Linked DNA regions of Homo sapiens: all the other regions are linked to region 1. Evidence: promoter capture Hi-C in 16 types of primary human blood cells and fetal thymus (Javierre and others, 2016). All regions are on one chromosome and are shown on one strand. Each heading gives the region's core, a stretch centred on a gene start or on the middle of the fragment in contact. The rest is flanking DNA. Distances are from core to core; before and after follow the strand shown.

The links. Contacts are between HindIII fragments. The CHiCAGO score rates a contact against its expected background, and 5 or more counts as called.
Region 2: a fragment that was not itself captured here is called in contact with the fragment with the promoter of ADCY7 in region 1 in 1 of 17 cell types (total CD4 T cells); the score reaches 6.9 in total CD4 T cells.
Region 3: a fragment that was not itself captured here is called in contact with the fragment with the promoter of ADCY7 in region 1 in 4 of 17 cell types (naive CD4 T cells, non-activated CD4 T cells, total CD4 T cells and 1 more); the score reaches 9.9 in naive CD4 T cells.
Region 4: a fragment that was not itself captured here is called in contact with the fragment with the promoter of ADCY7 in region 1 in 1 of 17 cell types (naive CD4 T cells); the score reaches 5.3 in naive CD4 T cells.
Region 5: a contact is called between a fragment that was not itself captured here and the fragment with the promoter of ADCY7 in region 1, in 2 of 17 cell types (activated CD4 T cells and naive CD4 T cells). The highest score is 5.5, in activated CD4 T cells.

Annotation. Positions count from the first base shown.
Region 1 is chr16:50,265,270-50,267,848 of GRCh38, reverse strand. It overlaps ADCY7 (adenylate cyclase 7), which reads right to left and starts at 1,298. Exons shown (of 26, transcript NM_001114.5): 1 at 1,169-1,298. RefSeq lists enhancers at 1,526-1,615, 1,561-2,154. The HindIII fragment of the contact is 14,845 bases long and covers 1-1,502 here.
Region 2 is chr16:50,768,460-50,771,038 of GRCh38, reverse strand. The region is part of intron 5 of CYLD (CYLD lysine 63 deubiquitinase); the gene reads right to left. Among named protein-coding and RNA genes, the nearest start is that of CYLD-AS1, 27 kb to the right of the region's middle. The HindIII fragment of the contact is 2,515 bases long and covers 35-2,549 here.
Region 3 is chr16:50,749,873-50,752,451 of GRCh38, reverse strand. CYLD (CYLD lysine 63 deubiquitinase) reads right to left here. Exons shown (of 19, transcript NM_001378743.1): 3 at 2,250-2,579; 4 at 546-848. Among named protein-coding and RNA genes, the nearest start is that of CYLD-AS1, 8.4 kb to the right of the region's middle. The HindIII fragment of the contact is 1,396 bases long and covers 576-1,971 here.
Region 4 is chr16:50,663,064-50,665,642 of GRCh38, reverse strand. No RefSeq gene overlaps it. Among named protein-coding and RNA genes, the nearest start is that of SNX20, 17 kb to the left of the region's middle. RefSeq lists a silencer at 1-90 and an enhancer at 1-427. The HindIII fragment of the contact is 9,909 bases long and covers 1-2,579 here.
Region 5 is chr16:50,640,620-50,643,198 of GRCh38, reverse strand. It overlaps NKD1 (NKD inhibitor of Wnt signaling pathway 1), which reads right to left. Exons shown (of 10, transcript NM_033119.5): 10 at 1-2,579. Among named protein-coding and RNA genes, the nearest start is that of NKD1-AS1, 28 kb to the right of the region's middle. The HindIII fragment of the contact is 3,833 bases long and covers 1-2,579 here.

The sequences.
Region 1 (2,579 bases), core at 49-2,548:
TGCAGGGCTGGCACTTGGCACTTCCTCTCAAATTGGCTGGCTTGTCACTTTTATGTCTCCTTTGGCCTCGTCTAAGACAATAATACAGTCATGATGTCACAATGGCAATGTCCTATTTACAGATTTTTTTTTCCCCAAGACAAATACTTAGATTTTAAACATGTCCTTCCACACACAGGCTAGAACCCCCTGTGATTCCCTGGGCAGCCCGGTCCTCACTCCGAGAAACACTGGTGTTGAGTCCACCCCTCACAGCCTCCATCTGCAAGATGGTGATGCTAGTGAAGGCCCACGGTCACATAGCCCTTCCAGACACATCCAGCCCACACTGGCTGCCCGTCCAGGCCTTGGACCCAGGGCCCCTGTCGTAGGTGGCTCGGCCTGGCCCCTACCTCCAGGCCCTTGGCTTCCCCCTCCCGGCCCTCCCTTCTCCTCTCCAGCAATGGCTGTCCAGGGAGGAAGCCCCCAGCCACAGATGTCCCTGCCCTTGACCCTGATGTGATGACACAGAGAAGAGGCAACTGCCTCACCCTCTGTACATACATGTTTAGATGAATGCATAGAAAGCTCCAGAAAGACCCGCTCCAGAAAGACCCACTCCAGATGGCCCATGCGGTCCCTGGGGGATAGAGGAGAGGCATTGCAGGGAAAGGGAAACCAGTCTGCTTTTTGGAGGCATCTTGGTTTCCTGACCCTCAGGCATGCACTCCTTTCAGAGGTTTTGTTTGTTTTTTGTTTTATAATTTCATAAAATTAGTTGAATTGGCCTTCCCTTGCCAATGTTTCCTTTCATTGAGAAAAGTCATGTGTGCTTGTAAATGTAAAATTACACCCTCGAGAAGGAGTGTGGACATTTGAGAGTCTGTGGTTCCTAGAATTCCAGATGGAACGGGCCACATGTACAACATTGTGGTCACAACCGCACTTTCTTGTCAGGCTGGGAAAAGCCAGTGACAAGTCGCCTCTGGTCCCCTGTTGAAGGGCCGCCTCTCCCAGCCATCTGCCCAGTAGGCTCACGGAGCCTCCTACTCCCCCAGCCCAGACCCTGCCCAGTGCACTCCCAGGCCAGGCTGCCGGGTGAGCTGCTTCCCACCCACTGTCCAGCCCCGTCCCCTGGGGCTCAAGCCACTAGGACTGGTGACACTCCATCCCCACACCCCACTTTTACCTGGCTCTCCTCCCCGGCCCCAGCAGCCGGCCAGGGTCTGCAGGGAGGTGGCCCGGCCCCCGCCTGCCCTTCCTCAGACGCGCCCAGGCTCACCCATCCGAAGGCTCCTTCCACGCTACCTAATGAGAGTGAGTCACATCTGGGACCCACCACTTCCTGCTCCGGCAGCGGCAGCAGCGGCGGCGGCGGCAGCAAGGCTAAGGCACAGCCCACAGCCCAGCCTCTCGGGGTGTGCAGGGCCCCCTCCCCCAGCCACAGTGCTGCTCTCCGCAGCCTGGGAGCTGCCAGGCCTGGGAGCTGTCGGGCTCCAATGACTTCATGGAAATTTGAAGCTTGAAGCTGGAACAATTTTGAAAAAATAATAATAAAACAAGCACCAAAAACCTCCATTAGAAGCCCCAAGACAACTGTTCAAAGTGGGGAGCAAATGCATCCTTAGTGAGCAATTAGCAATTAGCGGCCTGGCCTGAGCCTCCTGTGGGCTCTGACGCTCACAGACAGGCCCCCCGCGCCTTCCTGGGACTCAATTTCCCTATCTATGTAGTAAGGTGGCCCCGTCCACCTCTGAGAGGGGCCCAGGAGAGGTCAAAGATCTTCCAGCCCAGCCCACTGCCTCTCCATCTCACCTACGCTCCCATGCTGGGAGCAGGGCAGGGGCAGGCCCATCCTTGGGGCTCCTATTCCAAAATCAGAGTCCCTGGAGAGCCCCCAACATCCCTGGGCACCATGAGGCTGGGAATCAAACCCCAGCACCCCTTCTGCTATGCCAGGCCTCAGTTTCCCCACTGGGATCATGGGGCGCTCAGTGGCGAGGGAGCAGATCAGGAGAGGCTAAGAGGAGAGAGTGGAGACTCCCAAAACAGAGGGGGAGGCCTCCAGCCCGCTGGCCACAGCAGCACCTGGTCCTCAGGGAGCCCTTCTGAGCATGTGACTGGCATCCTGGGATTACGAGCTCCTCAAAGCAATGGTGTACCTCCTCCACCTCCCACATCCAGGGTCAGACACCCCTCTTCTGGTCTTCTAACCCCTGCACCTTCCTCCATCACAGCACCTCTGTGCTGTGACCACTGGTTGCTGGTCTGTCTTTCCTAGGTTATATCCTTGAGGAGGGCAGAGATGGGAGGGCAGCTGTAATATCAACAGCTGTGTCCCCAGCGTCCAGCCCCAGCTGGTCACAGAGTAGACATCCCACACATACTGATCAGGAGGAACTGAACATGTTAGGTGCTGTCTCTGTGCCAGGCCCCATGCAGGGAACTAGCAGGTGATCTAAGGTCTGCCATCTGGTGGAGACAGGCATAGGACTCACACAGGGTTCCAGGCTGCTCCAGAGGCCACAGGAGGGAGTGGGAGACCTCAGGGGATCCTCCCCATCAGGGTCGCCCTCCTATCAGCAAATGTCTCCCTAGCA
Region 2 (2,579 bases), core at 43-2,542, 500 kb before region 1:
CTAAACAAAAGTTGTCGAACTTGACACAAAAGCTTGACCCACACAAGAAAAACTATAAATTGGACTTCATAAAAATAAAAATCTTGTACTCTGTGAAAGACCCTATTAAGAGGATGAAAAGACAAGCTACACATTGGGAAATAAAATGTGCAAACCATATATTGAACAAAGAATTAGTATCTAGAATACATAAAGACTTCTCAAAACTCAACAGTAAAAAAGCACAGGATCCAATGAGAACCTGGGCAAAAGAGATGAGGACACCTTTCACTCAAGAATATATACGAAGGCTGGGTGCAGGGGCTCATGCCTGTAATCCCAGCACTTTGGGAAGCCGAGGCAGGTGGATCACTTGAGGTCAGGAGTTCGAGACCAGCCTGGCCAACATGGTGAAACCCTCTCTCTACTAAGAACACAAAAATTAGCTGGGCTCGGGGGCGCACACCTGTAATCCCAGCTACTTGGGAGGCTGAGGCAGGAGAATCACTTGAACCCAGGAGGTGGAGGTTACAGTGAGCCGAGATCACGCCACTATACTCCAGCCTGGGTGAACAGAGCAAGACTCCATCTCAAAAAAAAAAAAAAGAAAGAAAGAAAAAGAATATATACAGATGACAGTGAGTACACGGAACGATGTTCAACATCAGCAGCCATCAGGTAAATTCAAATCAAAATCACAGTGAAATACAACTACAAATCTCTCTGAATGGCTAAAATTAAAAATAGGGACAACATCAAATGCTGGAAAGGATACAGAGAAACCAGATTACCCATATATTGCCAGTGGTAAAGTAAGAGTACAGTCACTCTGGAAAACAGTTTAGCGGTTTCTTAAGAAACTAAATTTGCAAATATCACCGAATACGCACTTGGACAATTATGTCAAGAAATAAAGATTTATGTGCACTCAGGAAACTACACACAAATATTTATAAAAGCATTATTCATAATAGCCAAAAACTGGAAACAAACCAGATGTCCTTCAACAGCTAAACAGTTAAACAAACTGATACATCCATAATATGGAATATTACTCAGGAATAAACAGGAACAATCCATGGATATATATAAAATAATGTAGATAAATCTCCAGAGAATTATGCTCAGTGAAAAAAGAGCCAGTCTCAAAAGGTTACATACTGTACAACTCCATTTATGTAACATTCTTGAAATGACTGAATTACAGAAATCGACAGCAGATGAGTGGTTGTCAGAGGTTAAGGATGGGGCAGGAGGAAGAGGGAATTTGTGCGGCAGTAAAAGGGCAAGATAAGAGATCTTTGTGGGATGGGAATGTTCTGCTTCTTGATTGTATCAGGGTCAACATTCTGGTTGTGATGTTGCACACGTCTTGTTTTACAACATGTTAATGTTACCGCTGGGAAAAATTGGCTAAAGGGCACACAGGGTCCCTCTCTCTGCATGTGAATCTATAATAATCTGAAATGCTGTAAAGCATATATCTGCAAAAGGGTTTGTATTCAAAATTTATAAATAACTCTCAAAACCCAATCATAAAGAAACAATTAATAATCGGCCAAAGACTTTCACAGATACTAAACCAAAGAAGATATACAGATGACAAATATGCACATGGAAAGATGTTTGATATCACTGGTCACCAATGAAGCGCAGAGTAAAACCACAATTAGATGTTACTAAAATTTAAAAAACTGATCATACCAAGTGTTGGCAAAGATATGGAAGAACTGTATCTCTCATATACTGCTTCTGGGAATGTAAAATAATGCAACCACTTTGGAAACACAGCTTGGAAGGTTTGGGGGTTTTATTTAAGTTAACAGTCACCTATGATATTACCAGCCATTCCACATCTAGGTAAGTACCCAAGTGAAATGAAGGCATATGTCCATACAAAGATTCGTACACAAATTTTCATAGCAGCATTATTCATAATAGCCAAAAACTGAAAAAAACTCAAGTGTCCATCAACAAGTGAATGGATATAGAAACTAATATAACCATATCAACAATAAAAAGGACAACATGGATGAATAAAAAATAATTATGTCGAGTGAAATAAGCCAGACAAAAAAGAATGCATTCTGAGTTATTCCACTTTTGTAAAATCCTTAAAAATGTGAACAAGTGTATACTGATGTAAAGAAGACCAGTGGTTGTCTGAATGTAGGGGGTTGAGAGGACAGGAAGAGGCAGAGGGAGGGATCCCAAGGGACATATTTTGGGGTGATGGATATGTTCACTATCTTGATCGTAGAGATCGTCAAAAAAACAGCATTATACTCCCAACCCCCACAACTAGAACAGAAGACACAGGTTGAACTAGAAAAACCGAAATGTATAATTTTGGGGTGGTGCTAATTGATATGCTTCATCATAACAACTTCAAGAACATGAACATAATGTCAAATTAGATATGTTAGCAGTGTTTTTAACCATTTAGAACAGAAATATAAGAGAGAAACAATTTTATAACAGGTTTAAGATTCCTGCATCTTTCAATCAAAGGTATCCTTCAGAAGCCAACTATTACAAGCAATTGACTAGAAAGAATTCTTTCCTAAGCTTCCCAGCCATTCAACTGCTCTGAAAAGAAT
Region 3 (2,579 bases), core at 24-2,523, 480 kb before region 1:
AAAATCAATGTGGTTTTCCTCTACTCAGGTATTTTCTATAAATGATTATTATACTAATTATTAAAATCAGATCAGCCATTAAATTGTGTAGAATATCACAAAAAAATGGAGTACCCCAAAAAACTGTTTCAAAATAAAGAAAAATAGGACTTCAAGTAATATAATTGTGTTTTGTCTTGTTTTGTTTTGTCTACTGGTCAGCTACAATAAGGCAAATTTAAAGATAGAGAACATTATTCTAGTTTATTCAAATGGGAAAAAAAAGTAAATGTAATCTGTATCTAGACCCCTGTTCTATTTCAATGCTCCTTTACCAAAGATAAATTAGAACATGTTCTTTAAAGTACTCCAAATTAGATCATGTTAAATATTCAAAGTGTTCAATTTGCAAGTAAATTGGTCCTAAAACTAATACATATATATATAAACTATACATATATATGTGTGTATATATATGTGTGTATATATATGTTTATATATATATATACATATATATATAAACTAATATATATATCACAAAGATATTTAATCCAAAATTTTCTTACCATGTCCACACCAACAAAATATCCTAAGCTTTCTTTTCCTGGCAAAACATCACAGAATATAACTGTTCCAGATTCTATTGTTTCTCCAACCTTCAAAGAAACTCTGGAGTTTATTTCCAAAGGAGGAAGTTCGACCTGCATTGTGTCCCCAGGACCTGCGTAATCACTTTCCAATGCAGTGTCATCATCTTCTATGAGTTCTAGCTTGTCCAATGCAACAAACACGCCACAATCTTCATCACACTGAAAAAGCTGTTTCCCTTGGTACACCCCGTCAGTGAAACCTTGACCACGACCTTCTTCCTAGTTTTTAAGAGAGAAGGGAAAGAAATAGATATAGAAAGACGATCCATAGGAAAAGGGGTTCACTCTAGGGATTTCAGGAAAATCACTCTGGAAAATTTCTAAATGATACATATAATAAGAAATACAATTATTAGCAGTTTCTGTTGGATTTAGAGTGTTTTAAAAAATAAGAAGTTGTATCTGATGCTGAAATAATATTATCTGATAATTTCAATTCATAACTCTATCATGAGAAAGCTAGGCTGAATTCCACGTTGTGATTCTAACATTAATTTGGTTATAAAAAGAAAATGTTACTTTAAAATAGCAGTAATGTTAGCTCCATTCATTAAGCACTTATTGTCAGTCACTGTGCTTAAATCCTGCATCAATGTACCACAAAAACACTACAAGTCATGTACTATTAACACCATTGTACAGGTAAGGATGCAGAATGAGAGAAGTTAAGTAGCTTTGTTAAGTAACCTGGCAACCCAGCTAGTAAATGGCTTAACTGGGATTCAAATTCCTAATTGTTTACAATCACTGCTTTTAAAAAAAATTAAATCAAGAAGCAAAGAAGACATGCAATTCTATTGGCAAGAGTGTCAAAATGTAATTGGCATTTCAGTTCTTGTGAATGAATATTAAGTTTGGAAACATATCACAGCATTCTTGGGTCTCCTTCCGGTAGAAATAAATTCTAAGGATTTTCACATATATTATCGGGGACAATTATAAGCAAGTTTAAATTTCTGCAACTTTTTTTTCAAAAATCTTATATCTAAATTGTTATTTAATAACATACATTAAGAAGAACTAAGAAACCTATAGATGATAACGCAAGGTAATTAACAATTTTTTATGTAACTATTTACAACTGGTAGCGTTCATGTTTAATACAGGCAATGTTAAAATTTCTAAAATATATATGTCTGCAATAGCCAGGTGAATCTCTTTGTATGTTCCTACCATAGTACATAGTTTTTTAAGTTTCGACATCATCTTTACATCTTCGCAATTCATCATTAAAAAGTAAACAAAAGAAATTAAATCAAGAAGCAAAGAAGGCATACAATTCTATTTGCAAGAATGTCAAAATATAATTGACATTTAAGTTCTCAAGAATGAATATTAAGCTTGGAAACATATCACAGAGTTCTTGGGTCTCTTTCCAACAGAAATAAACGCCAAGGTGATTTTCACACATATTATCAGTGACAACTATAAGCAAGTTTTGGATTATGGATTCAACCACAACATGGATTCATCAGCAAGGATGATGAATATTAAAAATTACAGAAGACTCTTGGGAAAATTTATTTCGTATTTAAGGAGAAAAATATGTATGTGCATACAAATACACAGACACACATGAACACAAACAAACACACTACTAAAATGGTTTATCAAACTTACCAGCAATTCAACTCCAAAGAATATTCCGGAGACTGTCCTCTCTGCTAACAGGGGTCCTCTGAAGCGTACAACTCCAGGAAATTTTTCTTCCCCAGATCTCAGCTGTACTTTCACAGGACAGCCCACGTCTATTTGGAGGCCTTTACTTAGTCTGTTTCTGTTTTTAAACAGGCTGAACCTCTCCTCACAATTGGTAATTGCCAAAAGTAACTCTGTGAACTTTTCATTTATCTCTACAACATCCTTTTCATCAACAAAGAGAACTGCATGAGGTTGCTCTAGAATTTTTAATCCAATCTGATTTTTCTTGCCTTTTGCAGAAGGAATCCT
Region 4 (2,579 bases), core at 36-2,535, 400 kb before region 1:
ACTGGTTTAATCTTATTCCCTTTCCACGGGGCAGGTCTGGAGAGACCGAGAGGATCTGATCCTGCAATTTAAAAAGTAGACAGCAGATGGCGCTGCCGCCTCGGCGGCTCCGAACGCATCGCCGCGGTGCGGGCGGAAAAAGCTGAAACAGCTGGGAAACCGAAACTTTCTCCAGGCTTCTGAAAGCCCTTAGACGGGATTTGAAATCATGCTGGAAAGAGCTTTGCTGCCTCTATAACCTCTCCCCAGCAAGTGTTTTGATGGGGGGTCCCCGGGCGACCTCCACTTGGGGTTTGGGACCTCACTCCCTTTCTGCCCCTCCATCCTCTTCCCTCAGCCCAGAAGCCCCAAAAGGCGGAGGCCACCGCCCTCCACTTCCCGCAAGCGGAATCCGCAGGGTTTCACAAGAGAGGGCGCTGCAAATAGCCAGTATCAGCGCCCCCAGGAGCAGGATCGGCCATGGCTTCCGAGAACGGGCCTAACTGCGCCTCTCTCGGTCTGGGGGGAGAGGCCCTTCCCCAGTAAGGCCCGCGCCACGTCGCTTTCCAGGGGGAGAGATTGAATAACCTGCTCCTCCCAGATCCCATCTCCCACCTTTTCAGGACCCAGATGGCGTGGGGGACTCCCCACCCATCTGCCTACTGAACTGGGGGAGTGAGAAGAGGACTCCCAGAGGACACCACTAGTGACCTTTTAATTCACCAGTAGACACACAAGGCTATAGAGACTGTGAGTAATGTGGGTTGGATAAATAAGTATAAGAAAGGAAAATGGAAGGAGGCTGGGAGGAAAAGAAAAGAGAAATGACGTTCCCTGCTTGTTAGAGTATAAATGGTACAACCACTTAAGAAAACCATTTGGCACCATTCCTCAAAGCTGAACGTAAACTGTCCTGTAAGTACCCAGCAATGCCGCCCTTAGGAATATACCCTATAGACAGATAGGCAAGCATGCTCACCAAAAGACATGTACCACAACTGCACAGCAGGAACAGCTCCTGATACTGTCCCCCAGCTGGAAACAACCCAAGTGTCTGCGAACCATAAAACAGAGAAGGGACTTGGGGTATTCTTATGTGGAACATGAGGCAGTTATGAAACAAGCTATGCTTGGACACAAGGAAGTGGATGAACCTCACAAGAGACTGCATGAAAGAAGCCAGACACAGACGGATGCAGCCTGTGTGGTTCCATTTCCTGAAGGCCAAGGGCAGGTCGGACTCAACCAGAGGGCTGAAGCATGCTTGCTTAGATGGCAAAACTCCTGTACTAGGGTTCTCCGGAGAAAAAGAACCAAGAGCAGAGATAGATATGGATATGGACATATAGTATATGTCTATATATTTGCATATAATGAGATTTAGTATAAGCGATGAGCTCCTAGAATTATGGCGGCTGAGAAGTCCCAGCATCTGCCATCTGCAAGCTGGAGACCCAGGAAGGCCGGTGGTGCAGTTTGAAGGCCTGAGAGCCAGCGAGCTGACAGTGTAGACTCTAGTCCAGGTCTGCAGGCCTGGGAACCAAGAATGCTAAGAGCAGGAGATCCAGGCTCCAGCTTGGCGATCAGAGAGGAGGCAAATCCAACGGTCCTCTGCCTTTTTTGTTCCGAACAGGCCTTCAGTGAGTTGGAAGATGCCCGTTCACATGGGGGAAGACCGTCTGTCACACTCAGGGCATCAACTCCAATGCTAATCTATCCTAGCAGACATACCCAGAAATAATGTTTAAGCAGACATCCGGGCATCCCATGGCCCGGTTAAGCTGACATAAAATTAACCATCACAACTCCTGAAATTAAAAAAAGCAGAAAGGGTTACTATAAAAGTTGAGATGGTGGTTATCACTTCGAGGGGGTGAGGAGGTTTTGACTGGGATGGGGACAGTGAGGAGTCTCAGTTCTTACTCTAGGGTGATGGTTGTAAAAGTATTTGCTTAGTAATAATTTGTTAAGCTGTACACTTTTATGCACTTTTCTCCGTGTGTTCTATTTCACAATAAGAATATCTTAATAGGCTGGGTGCAGCAACTCACACCTGTAATCCCGGCACTTTGGGTGGCTGAGGTGAGAGGATCACTTGAGGCCAGGAGTTTGAGACCAGCCTGGCCAACATAGTGAGACCCTGTCTCTACAAAAAGAAATTAAAATTTAAAAATGTTAAAATTGGCCGAGTGCGGAGGCTCATGCCTGTAATCCCAGCACTTTGGGAGGCCGAGGCGGACGGATCACCTAAAGTCAGGAGTTTGAGACCAGCCAGGCCAACATGGTGAAACCCTGCCTCTACTAAAAATACAAAAATTAGCTGGGTGTAGTGGTGGGAGCCTGTAATCCCAGCTACCTGAGAGGCTGAAGCAGGAGAATTTCTTGAACTCAGGAGGCAGAGGTTGCAGTGAGTCGAGATCGTGCCAAGGCCCTGCAGCCTGGGCAACAGAGTGAGATTCTGTCTCAAAAAAACAAAAAACAAACCAAAAAACAACAGAAAACAAAAACAAAATGTTAAAATTTAAAAATATAAATATGTTAATAAAAGAATAAATTGGGGCAGCAAATATAAAGTCAATATTTATTAGGCACCAAGTATG
Region 5 (2,579 bases), core at 25-2,524, 380 kb before region 1:
GTAAGTGGCAGATATGGCAATGTGGACTCCTCAGCGATCCTGCAGCTTAGGAGTTGGGCAAGGACAGACCCAGATGTAGGGTAGCGAAGCATTGCTCCAGAGGCCACCTCTTTCCCCAAGGAAGGCACTGCTGGCATGGCTTTCAGGCTGCCCATCCCCACCACTACCCCTACTGTTTGTAGGACTTAGAGCTGCCACCCCCATAGTCTAGCTTCAAGCCAAGGGCAGTTTCATAATACAAATATGGTACTGAAGGCCAGAGACAGCAGGGGCTTGTCCAAGTTCACACCACAAGTCGGGTCTGGAAGGAACAGAGTGATCCCATCAAACTTGAGAGGGAAAAGTCATGTCCTCAAGTGTTTTTTGAGTGTGTAGCAGAGGCAGCATGCCACAGCAGCTGTCTCACTGGGGGCTCTGCAGCCGGGGTGGAGGACAGGTACCCTTCATCCATCAGGACTGCACCTCCTTTCCCATGAGCCTTCTGGGGTCACATTCTCCTAACTGCAGCTACTGTTGCTGTTTTACTTATCGAGGGCCTATTACGTGCCAGGCTCTGCGCTGAACGCTTCACGCCCACTGGATCATTTACTCATAACAGCTCAGTAAGGTAGTTACCCCAATTAGCCCCATGTTAGAGAAAAACACCAAGGCACAGAGGTGAGTCACTTGTCCCAGGTCACACATCTAGGAAGTAGTAGAACCAGGACTCAGCTCAGGTCCAAAGTCTCAACCATGGGCCAGTCTGCTCATCTTAGCCAAACCCCCAGGCTGCATTCTGTGGTCCAGCTACTGGATCCTGCAACCTTCTCAGACTCTATCCATGAAGCCAAGTGCACAGGATCTAGGACATCAGGTCCAGAGAATTTGGGGCCACATCTTCCTGGACCTGCAGATGGGCAAGGACCAGACTCTAGCCTGAACAGTGAGATGCAGCCCAGAGAAGTGGGAATCCACAGACAGAGCCTGGCCTGAGACTCCTACTGAGACTGCCCATGTGGCCACTCGGGGAGTTCCCGTCCCCTGCCTGATCAGCAGTCTTTTTGCTTCCCCCTCCAAGAGAGCTGGGGGGCATTCCTCCAGGAAGCCTGATATGTAACAAACTCCTTTCCCATTTCTTGCTTTGCTTAAATCTCCAAAGTCCCTGGAGCTGAAGCCAAGCGGGCCTCATTAGGTCCACTTTACAGAAAAGCAAACTGAGTCTCAAAGAGGGGAAGTCACTGAGCCGGGTACAATCCAGCCAGTCTTTTGAGTTGGGGCTTTCCACCTGTCTTGGCTGTTTAAGGAGTGCTGGGCGGGGTCTCACACAGCCTGGGACCCTTTGCTGGGGGTTCCAGCCCACCTTGCCCCATCTAAAGGAGGAGTGGGGCCACATTGTGAGGGTCTCCAGGACTGCCCCAAAGACTTCCCCATGAAAGTCCTCCCATGCCTGAAGCTGCTCCCTTAGCCATCCTCCTGTCTAACGCTCTGCCCTGAACAGGTTTTTAAGTGGCATCACTGACCTCCAAAACTTAGGTGCTTGAGGCTGCGCAGGGGTCATGAGCTGAATCGCATCAAAGCCAGGCCTCAAAATCAGGCTGAGAGGGGCTCCGGGCGCAGGAAAAAAGGCATGTGCACCATTGGAAGAGGCGGGCGGATTGCAGCCATGTGGGAACAGGAGCCTGGGGTAAACCCACTTTCTGATTTTTATGAGAAAAGCCAAACATCCAGGTTTTTAGGTGAAACCCTCAGATTTTGGAAATTAATTAAAAATTTTTGAAACCCTTGATGGGTCAAACATGACACATCGATGGGCCAGGCTAGGTACGGTCCCGGTGAGCAGAGGATTGACTTCTGGAGGCTTAGAGTGGGCAGGGGACAGGAAGGCAGGGCAGAGTTCCAGACTCCACAGCTTCCTGGGGAGTGTGGCTCTGAGCAAGTTGGCCTCAGGCCCACTCCAACCCCTCTACCAGGCACCAAGAGACATAGTTCAGCCCCGACCATTGAACTGGCCATGACAGGCCTGCTGATACAAGCAGACCACCCCCGCCAATGGCCTCTGTGGAGTTACTGACCAGTGTTGGAGGTTGCAGAAGCCCCCTCTCCAGACATCAGAGCTGTCAGCCTCCCCCAAGTCCTTTGCAGACAGCTGAGGCCATGACTGGAAAAAGGACCTGCAAGCCGGTCTGCGCTCAGCTTTGGGAAGAACTGTCCATTTGGACTCCACACCCCCACCTGGAGTCTCAGGTCTCCCGTCTCTAAAATGGGAAGAAAAATTCTAGCCCTACTACAATGTGTGGCTGACCAAACTTTCACTGATTTCCAAGGAAAGAAAACAAAACAAAAACAAAGACAACATAATGAGGTTGTTTTTTTTTTCTTTTTAACTTCTTTTGGTTTTTCTTTAAACAGTAAGGGACTGCAATTTTCTATTCTTTTTCTAATATCCTTATTTAGCAAAATTAAAAGTTGGCGATGATGTGTTGCTTTCCCAGACTTTTATTTGAAATGTGACTGCTTTGTAAAACTCCAGAGTCAAGGACTCATAGGCAGGAGGATGTCATAAATTAACAGGAAAGGATGAGAAATCTCCACTCCACTCC